2 separate regions of the Homo sapiens genome follow, and region 2 is linked to region 1. Evidence: promoter capture Hi-C in 16 types of primary human blood cells and fetal thymus (Javierre and others, 2016). All regions are on one chromosome and are shown on one strand. Each heading gives the region's core, a stretch centred on a gene start or on the middle of the fragment in contact. The rest is flanking DNA. Distances are from core to core; before and after follow the strand shown.

Region 1 (3,983 bases), core at 765-3,264:
TTGGGAGAAAATCTGCATAGTTCAACATAGAACAATGAAAGGAAGTGTCAGCCTGTATCCCAGCCCTGAAATGGAATGAGCTCTGTTTCTGCACAGAAGGCAGTTGAGACAATGTCAGTTACCCATTCCACTCATTTTGGTTTATTTTAAGGAAAATGCAATCTATGCAGTGTTTAGGAAATTATATACACCTTTGAAATTAGGATTTATTGCAATCAGGTAACCTTTAATAATGCAAAATGTGTATTTAAAAATACATTTAGTAATTAAGAATCGTACTCGATGCTTTTAGAACAGTAAAGTGATTAGTATTTCAATATACTTTCATCCAGATTACATTTTCTTCAGAAATAACATGTTCTTTTAATTTTCTATTTTTATGAACTTTGTTAACAATATTGAAAAGTAAAGACAACTGTTGAAATGTAAGCCCTTTTTGTCTGTTAAGTAATAGTAGGAGCTTTTATTTACTGGATTATTTGAAAATAAACTTTAGCAAGAATATTATAGAGGTGAGTCTTTATATTTGCTCAGTGAATTCTCTAAATTTTCTATGACGTTTTATAATTCTCTTAGATGATTTATATTTTAATTTCTAATAAATTTATACTTAAATTCACAAAAAAATGAGACTGATCAGAAACAACCTCATTTTGGAAGAAGCAGGACTGCAAAAATTAATATAACTGTCTTTTTTTGTTGTTTTCTTAGAACTACTCAGGAATATATTACAGACTTCACAAAGAGGAATACTACTTTGCACTAAGTCATATTCTAATGACTAATAAGTTAGAATATGATTAATACAAGATATATGCAAGAGTTCAGGCTAGAGTTACTCAAAGATTGATGAAGCCAGATCATGGAATGCAGTTTAGCGCAGTTACTAGGTGCAGTTTGACACGTTATTCACAATTTCCAGTGCCTCCAAAGTCCTCAGAGGATCCAGTCTAAACAAGCAAAGCTTGAGGAAAGACTCTTGAAATGTTAACTAACTTGTGTTTCTCAAAATGTTTCATGTAACTCTTTCCTATATCAGTTCTCAAACTTCTCTATAAAAAACAAATTCCTGAGATCGTTGTACCCTTTGTTATAGCACTTAACAAACTTTGTAATGAAAAATTTTGCATTTATGTTTTCCCTCCTTGATTTTAAATATATTTCTTCAATGTAGAAACTGTTTTTTCATACTAAATACTAAGTAAAGAGTAACACAAATTTTATATAAATTACACTTAGATATTTATGAAATGAATTAAATAACTTTCAAAATTTGTATACCAAATAGAGAAACAGACATGTTAAGAATATAGTGGCCGAGCGCAGTGGCGCATGGCTGTAATCCCAGCACTTTGGGAGGCCAAAGCAGGTGGATCACTTGAGGTCAGGCCTAGTTCATGACCAGCCTGGCCAACATGGTGGAACTCCATCTCTAGTAAAAATACAAAAATTAGCCGGGTGTGGTGGCACGCGCCTGTAATCCCAGCTACTCTGGAGGCTGAGGCAGGAGAATCGCTTGAACCTGGGAGGGGCAGGTTGCAGTGAGCCGAGATCGTACCACTGCACTCCAGCCTGGGCGACAGAGCGAGACTAAGTCTCAAAAACAACAACAACAACAACAACAAAGAATTTAGTAAGTATCTGAGTTTTGAATAGTCCTTTCCCCCAATTTACTATATAAATTTAATTTTCAAGCATTGGAACGTGGTCTATTTCTCAATTCTGTATACATTTAATTCAAGGTGCTGTAGCTGAGAGTTTGGAGTCTTCCTTTCCATGTCAGTAGGGGATGAGGAAACACACACACACACACACACAAACACACACACACACACACAACCCTGTTATCCTAAAAGCAGTTTTGGAGGTGGCTGAGAGGAGAGAACTTAGGAACTTAGCTGAGGAAATGATGAAAAGGACATTGTTTTGTGTCTCAGGAACCATGTGGAATTCCAAGATAAGAAAAACAGTTGCTAATTTGAGTATAAAAGCAGGAAACATGATACACTTATTTCCTTTTATGCGAACACAAGTATATGAGGGGTTGTGTAAAAATTATTTTTCTCTTGCTGTACTACAAAGAGATAGAATCAAACTGCTTTTTTTCGACATACTGGTTTTTCTTTCTGTTTTTCTTCTCTTTCTTCTATTTCTTGTGGATATTATGGCTAATAACACAACAAGTTTAGGGAGTCCATGGCCAGAAAACTTTTGGGGTAAGGTATTTTCTTTTACTGTTTAAAATTTAAAATTAGGATGTAAGAAATGCACTGCGTGATTATTAAAACAGTGAAAATCTCTGAGACATTTTGTTTACTATAATGTGATTACTTAAAGTTTTCATGTTTATTAACAGAAATCTATTTCATACGTTTATTAGCAGAAATATATTTATAGATATAAATATATACTTATATATTTATTTGTCTTTATAGTGTTCTATGAAGATATTCAAGAAGAATCTGGGTATTAAGTACAGATTTTGGCTGGTGTTACAAAATATAATTAGGAAATAGTGAGGATAAAAATAAAAAACATAAGGTGGAGGTAATTCCTGCTTAGAATATGGCATGTAGATTTTGTTGGAAAAATTAACTTTCATTTGTTTGAAGGTTATAGATTATATATTTTATTTTATGAAACTGAGATTTTCCATAGAGGCTATTTTCACTTATGTTGTGAATGTTATATGCTTTAATTTCCAAAGTGAATCCTAATAACATCTGTACTTAAATGAGTGAATTTAAAGTGCAATAACACAGGTAAAATAAATGAATGACTTTAGAGTATAACAAATAAAACATGGAATAATATGAAATTTGAGAAAACTATAGTAGAAAAGATTAAGTGGAAATAACATCACGTGTAACATTCAATGGAATCCTATCACAGGGGTTGGGGGGAAAGAACAATACAAAAGTATTTTTTGGAGAATTTTTTGTCTGAGTCCAGCCACAGCTAACAGTCCAGTGTTCCCTGATGTTGACAATGGGACTGTGCTGAGGTCAAAACTCAGTTGCTCCAGGTTAGAGGTACAAAGAAGATGGGCTCACATGGGGAGTTGACATGTACTCTTGGGTTCAGGGAAATTTTTATATTAAAGGAGGCAATTTAAATTAAATTCAGAAAAACACTTTAATGAAGAAAATAGTATATATGGACAGATCTGTTTATATGGCCAGAACAAGTTTTTAATCCTCTCAGTGTACAATTCAGACTTTCTGCTGTGATTCAAGGTGGGGTTTTGGGAACTTTCACATAAACAGTGAGCAGTAGTGGCCGACTTTTCCCAGCAATCTATATGTCTACCATCACAGAAATTTGCATGAAAAGAATTCACTCCAGTCCTTTAACCTATGTACTTTCTTAGATGAAAAATGTGGGGACAAATATTTATTGGTTTTAAAAGATATTAAAATTCAGCATAAGAAAAAAAAGAATTAACTCATTCTTTTTTTCTCACCTACATTTATGTTTGCTGGAAGACTGAAAAGGAAGGATATTGGTGAGCTCCTAATAAATTTATGTAACAGAATTAAGAAGAAGAAAAAAGATTATTCTAGTACATTGTAAAGAAAGGCTTTGGTAATAGGTTATTTTAGGTAGCTAGCACTAGACAGAAGCCTTTGAATTGTAGATGTCTGATTATATGCTTGTTAAAATATTATTTGCTGTCCTCACTTATAGAGAAAATAAGTGCTAAATGCACACTGAAAAAGAGCTAGAGTCTGTCTAAATCAAATTCATCATTATAAAAGTGTTCTGTATAAATTATTCAAAAGTAAAGTAGTTTTTGCAAAAATTAATATGTAGAAGTCAATCTATTTTTTTCAAACCATTCAAAATTAAATTTCAGGTTTACTTAAAAAAACAAATCATTATTCACTGACTAAAAGATTAAAATAAACTTGATATTAATAAGAGAATGTTTAGTTGGAGTTCACCTATTGATTCTAAAAATTTAGATATTTTTAATATGGAAA
Region 2 (3,983 bases), core at 1,035-3,534, 210 kb before region 1:
ATCTCTGTGTCTCTGTATATCTAGCTCCAAAAGTAAAGCCCCAGAGAGGCATAAAATAATAAAAGGCAATAAAATCTGTTGTAAATTTGCTTTATGATCTTGTCTAGAATACAGGACAGTGTATTTCCTTGGGGTAATTTTTCAAAAATATCAATAATTTGGCAGAAAATATACATGGGCTATACATTGCCCATGTGTAGTCAGGAGTAGAAATCTCTATTTTTCACATATGCAGGAATACCCCACCACATTACAGCAAATGAAGTATACAAATTCAATTGCATAAAATGCAAGATTGCATTAATGTGATGTTAATGAAAAACGGCATTTTTAGTTAGGCCTGTAATATCACAAAACACAAAGAGGAAATATATTGGAAATTATACCATATACAACTGATCATATACTAAGTTTAAAACATCCCAAATGACTAAGAGACCATCAAAGCCTAACCCCACCACTTCCTACAGCCTCCATTCCTTCTACCCCCACCCCACAGCACCAAGACATAAGAACTTCTGCCTGCCTTCCTTTGAGAATGGAGGCAGAAATGAGGTCTGGAGCCAATGGCCGGCCACATTATTATGTAAATGCATACCATCTATGCTTATCTTTTGAAAAATAATATATAACAACAGAAATAACAAAGATAGCTGCAGATGAAAAAAATACCACACAGGTATGGAAAATATCTCAGGAAGTCAACCCACTGGAACCGTCATTAACCAGTGTAAGAAAGAAACAATCAAATTAGAGAACTCTAAGAAGGTGTGACGTCTCCGATCATGTAGAATTAATATTTGGGGCGTCCCCGCCAGAGCAGGTTGTAACTAGGCTACCTCTCCAGACCACAGTAGGGCTGTTATGCTGCAAGGTTTTCCAACCAGAATTTTTACCTTATGTTGCTCAAGTTTCCGTTGTATCGTGTTTGCTGTTTCCTCGTGGACCTGTTGAACGGTTATTTCCTCTCTCAGGGCCACCTCCGCTCTGTACAGCCAGGCACCTATGGTGCCCAGAGGTGCAGGAAGAGATTTATCAAGCTGTATATGCCAGTCAAAGAGCTAAAATTTAAAAAGCAGAAAAGTAAAATATCTTTAATACAGATGGCAATTTATAAAATTGCACCCAAATAATAGTAAAGCATACATAAAGCTTTAAGTTAATGATTTCAGGCTAAGTTAATAAATATCAAATAAGCAAATGTCTGTGTTCTGAGTTTGACACTTTAGGGATGGGGAGAAAATTACAGTTAAAAGCAAATTTTGAAGAAACTGAAAATACATCTTAAACATGGAAGAATATTATCAGAAGTGTAAGCAATTTTCCTCTTACAGGAGTAGCATGAAGCACCCACTGATTTTCAGTGTGGCTTTTGCTGAAAGGGAAGGGATCAGGTTTGGTGACATGCTTGGAGGATGCAGCAGTTATACACCTGGCACATGTGTATCTTGGTCGTCGGAATGAGAATCCCATTAAAACCTCCCACGTGATCAGAACAAGTTCAGAAAAATGAGGATTATCTAAGCAGCTCTGGACAAAGATGGGTTTAAAGGATTCTTTCTATAATCCTATGATTGTCTACCCTTCTCTCCATCTCTTCCATTTTACCCAATTCTCAGACACATTTCCTAGCTTACTGGAAAGCCAGGTGGGATGAGTTGAGGTGCTTAGGAACTAGCCTATTCTTTAATGGAGTCACTAGAAAAAATGAGACTATCAAAAAAAAAATTAGGCTGGGTGCAGTGGCTCACTCCAGTAATCCCAGAAATTTGGGAAGCCAAGATGGATGAGATGCTTGAGCCCAGGAGTTTAAAACCACCCTGGGCAATATAGTGAGATCTCATCTCTACAAAAAAAAAAAAAAAAAAAAAAAATTAGCCAAGTATGGTGGTACATGCCTGTGGTCCCAGCTACTTGGGAGGCTGAGGTAGGATGATTGCTTGAGCCAAGGAGGTTGAAGCTGCAGTGAGCTGTGATTGTGCCACTGCACTTTAGCCTGGGTGACAGAGCAAGACACTATCTCAAAAACAAAATAAAATAAAGTAAAGAATATATGGTAAGTTCAAGACAAATATTCTTATTAGTGATAGAAGTGTTCCAGGGGTTTGAAATCTTGGCCTTTAAGCATGAAGAATATGAATATGAAAGATACTGAGCAATTTTCCTTCAGATTCATGATCAGATAAAAAAAGATGCTTGAATTAAAGAATGCAAAACTGTATGTCAACACAGGAAGGTCATTAACTGTTGATGAAACATGATTTTAGAATACAAGAAGTTGCTGTGGCTCTACTCTGGAGAATCTGCTACAAGACCAGAGAGTCACCTCTTCTAAACCACCCAGAAGGAAGTTGTGTAAAGTGTGAAGTGATCCAGATGGTCTCAGGACTTTAATCTATCATCTAGTTAATTGCTGATATCACATAGAGGGAAGCCAAGGCAAGAAAATAGCTGTTAAACCAAAGACTTCCATTAACTTACAGGAAAACTAGACAAGGAGGCAAAGATTCTCCCATAGTTAAGTCTTTCTAGCCTCAGACAGAGGCAGTAGAACCTGTTGCCATACCACTGTGTAGAAATAGATGATGAAAAATATTCTTTTCTAAATTTATTAAGCTCAGTATAACTAATTGTGGGAGAACTTACCCTGGAGGTCACTCTATCCCAAGATTGTTTTACCAATGCTTGGTCAAGTGACAATTTACCGTCTCTGTGTAATGGTTGTATTAAATGTTCAATCTGTTTCCTCTTCATTTCATATTGAACTCTGAAGTGCTTAAATGACTAAAAGAGGAAAAACAGCAACAGTATGGCAATGAGTCAAAAAAAGCAAAAGCAAAGGAAAGCACATTTCCTAAATAACAATCTTTTCTATTTGGATAACACTCAATATATGTTGTTGATAATAATAACGGTAGTTATGATACTAATAGCAGCTGTCATTCATCAAGCCCTGACATAGCTTGACCCTGTGCTAAGTGCTTTCTTCATATTATCCTCTCTGGTTCTCTCCATCACCCTACACATGCATTATTATTCTGAAGCCCAGAAATGACTTATCAAGGACAAGTAGTAGAGGTAGGACTAAAGCCTAGGATTTCTCATTTCTAGTAAAGTAATTTGTGTACCAGTATATGTTTGTCAGGAAATCATAGTAAACAGGAGTATAAATCTTAGCTAATAATCAAGATAGTTGCTTTACTTCAAGTACCAAACAATTTACAAATAGAAATTGCATATATCAAAATAATGCAGAATTAAAGCTGTCTAGATTTGTGTTTAAGTAAGCCTGCATAAAGAGGTTTACTTTAGGGGACCATGTTTACATGATAATCCTTTGCTTTAATTTCATGGTATTAAAATATTAAGTATATCACAGTACAGTTGACATCAATGTATTATATGTAGACTTAACTATAAGCTTAATGCTAACATTAAAACAATTTTTAAAGTTTTATATTTTACATTAACTAAATTAACCCATCCTAAAATATGACTCCAAATCTAAACATAAAATGAAAAGATAATTAAAATGTGCAATTATGTTACAGGAGAATGGCCCCACAAAAGTTAGCAGATAACACAACTAAAAGAATTTCAAAATTATAAACAAACATGTAAATTCACGTGAAGAACACTGGGGGGAGATAGTGAACTAGAATTTTATCTACAAGGTTTTCTTTCATTTTCTCTAACTGAATGGAATTTTAAAAATACCAAAACATAGGCTGGGCACGGTGGCTCACACCTGTAACCCCAGCACTTTTGGAGATCGAGGCGGGCGGATCATGAGGTCAAGAGATTGAGATCATCCTGGCCAACATGGTGAAAGCCCGTCGCCATTAAAAATACAAAAATTAGCTGAGCATAGTGGCGCATGCCTGTAGTCCCAGCTACTCAGGAGGCTGAGGCAGGAGAATCGCTTGAGCCTGGGAGGCGGAGGTTGCAGTGAGCTGAGATCACGATCATGCCACTACACTCCA

Evidence for each region. Contacts are between HindIII fragments. The CHiCAGO score rates a contact against its expected background, and 5 or more counts as called.
Region 2: a fragment that was not itself captured here is called in contact with the fragment with the promoter of MYCT1 in region 1 in 1 of 17 cell types (endothelial precursors); the score reaches 7.3 in endothelial precursors.

Annotation. Positions count from the first base shown.
Region 1 is chr6:152,695,883-152,699,865 of GRCh38, forward strand. MYCT1 (MYC target 1) reads left to right here and starts at 2,015. Exons shown (of 2, transcript NM_025107.3): 1 at 2,015-2,216. The coding sequence starts at 2,021. The HindIII fragment of the contact is 10,649 bases long and covers 963-3,983 here.
Region 2 is chr6:152,482,189-152,486,171 of GRCh38, forward strand. SYNE1 (spectrin repeat containing nuclear envelope protein 1) reads right to left here. Exons shown (of 146, transcript NM_182961.4): 13 at 2,647-2,784; 14 at 897-1,061. Among named protein-coding and RNA genes, the nearest start is that of SYNE1-AS2, 82 kb to the left of the region's middle. The HindIII fragment of the contact is 2,269 bases long and covers 1,151-3,419 here.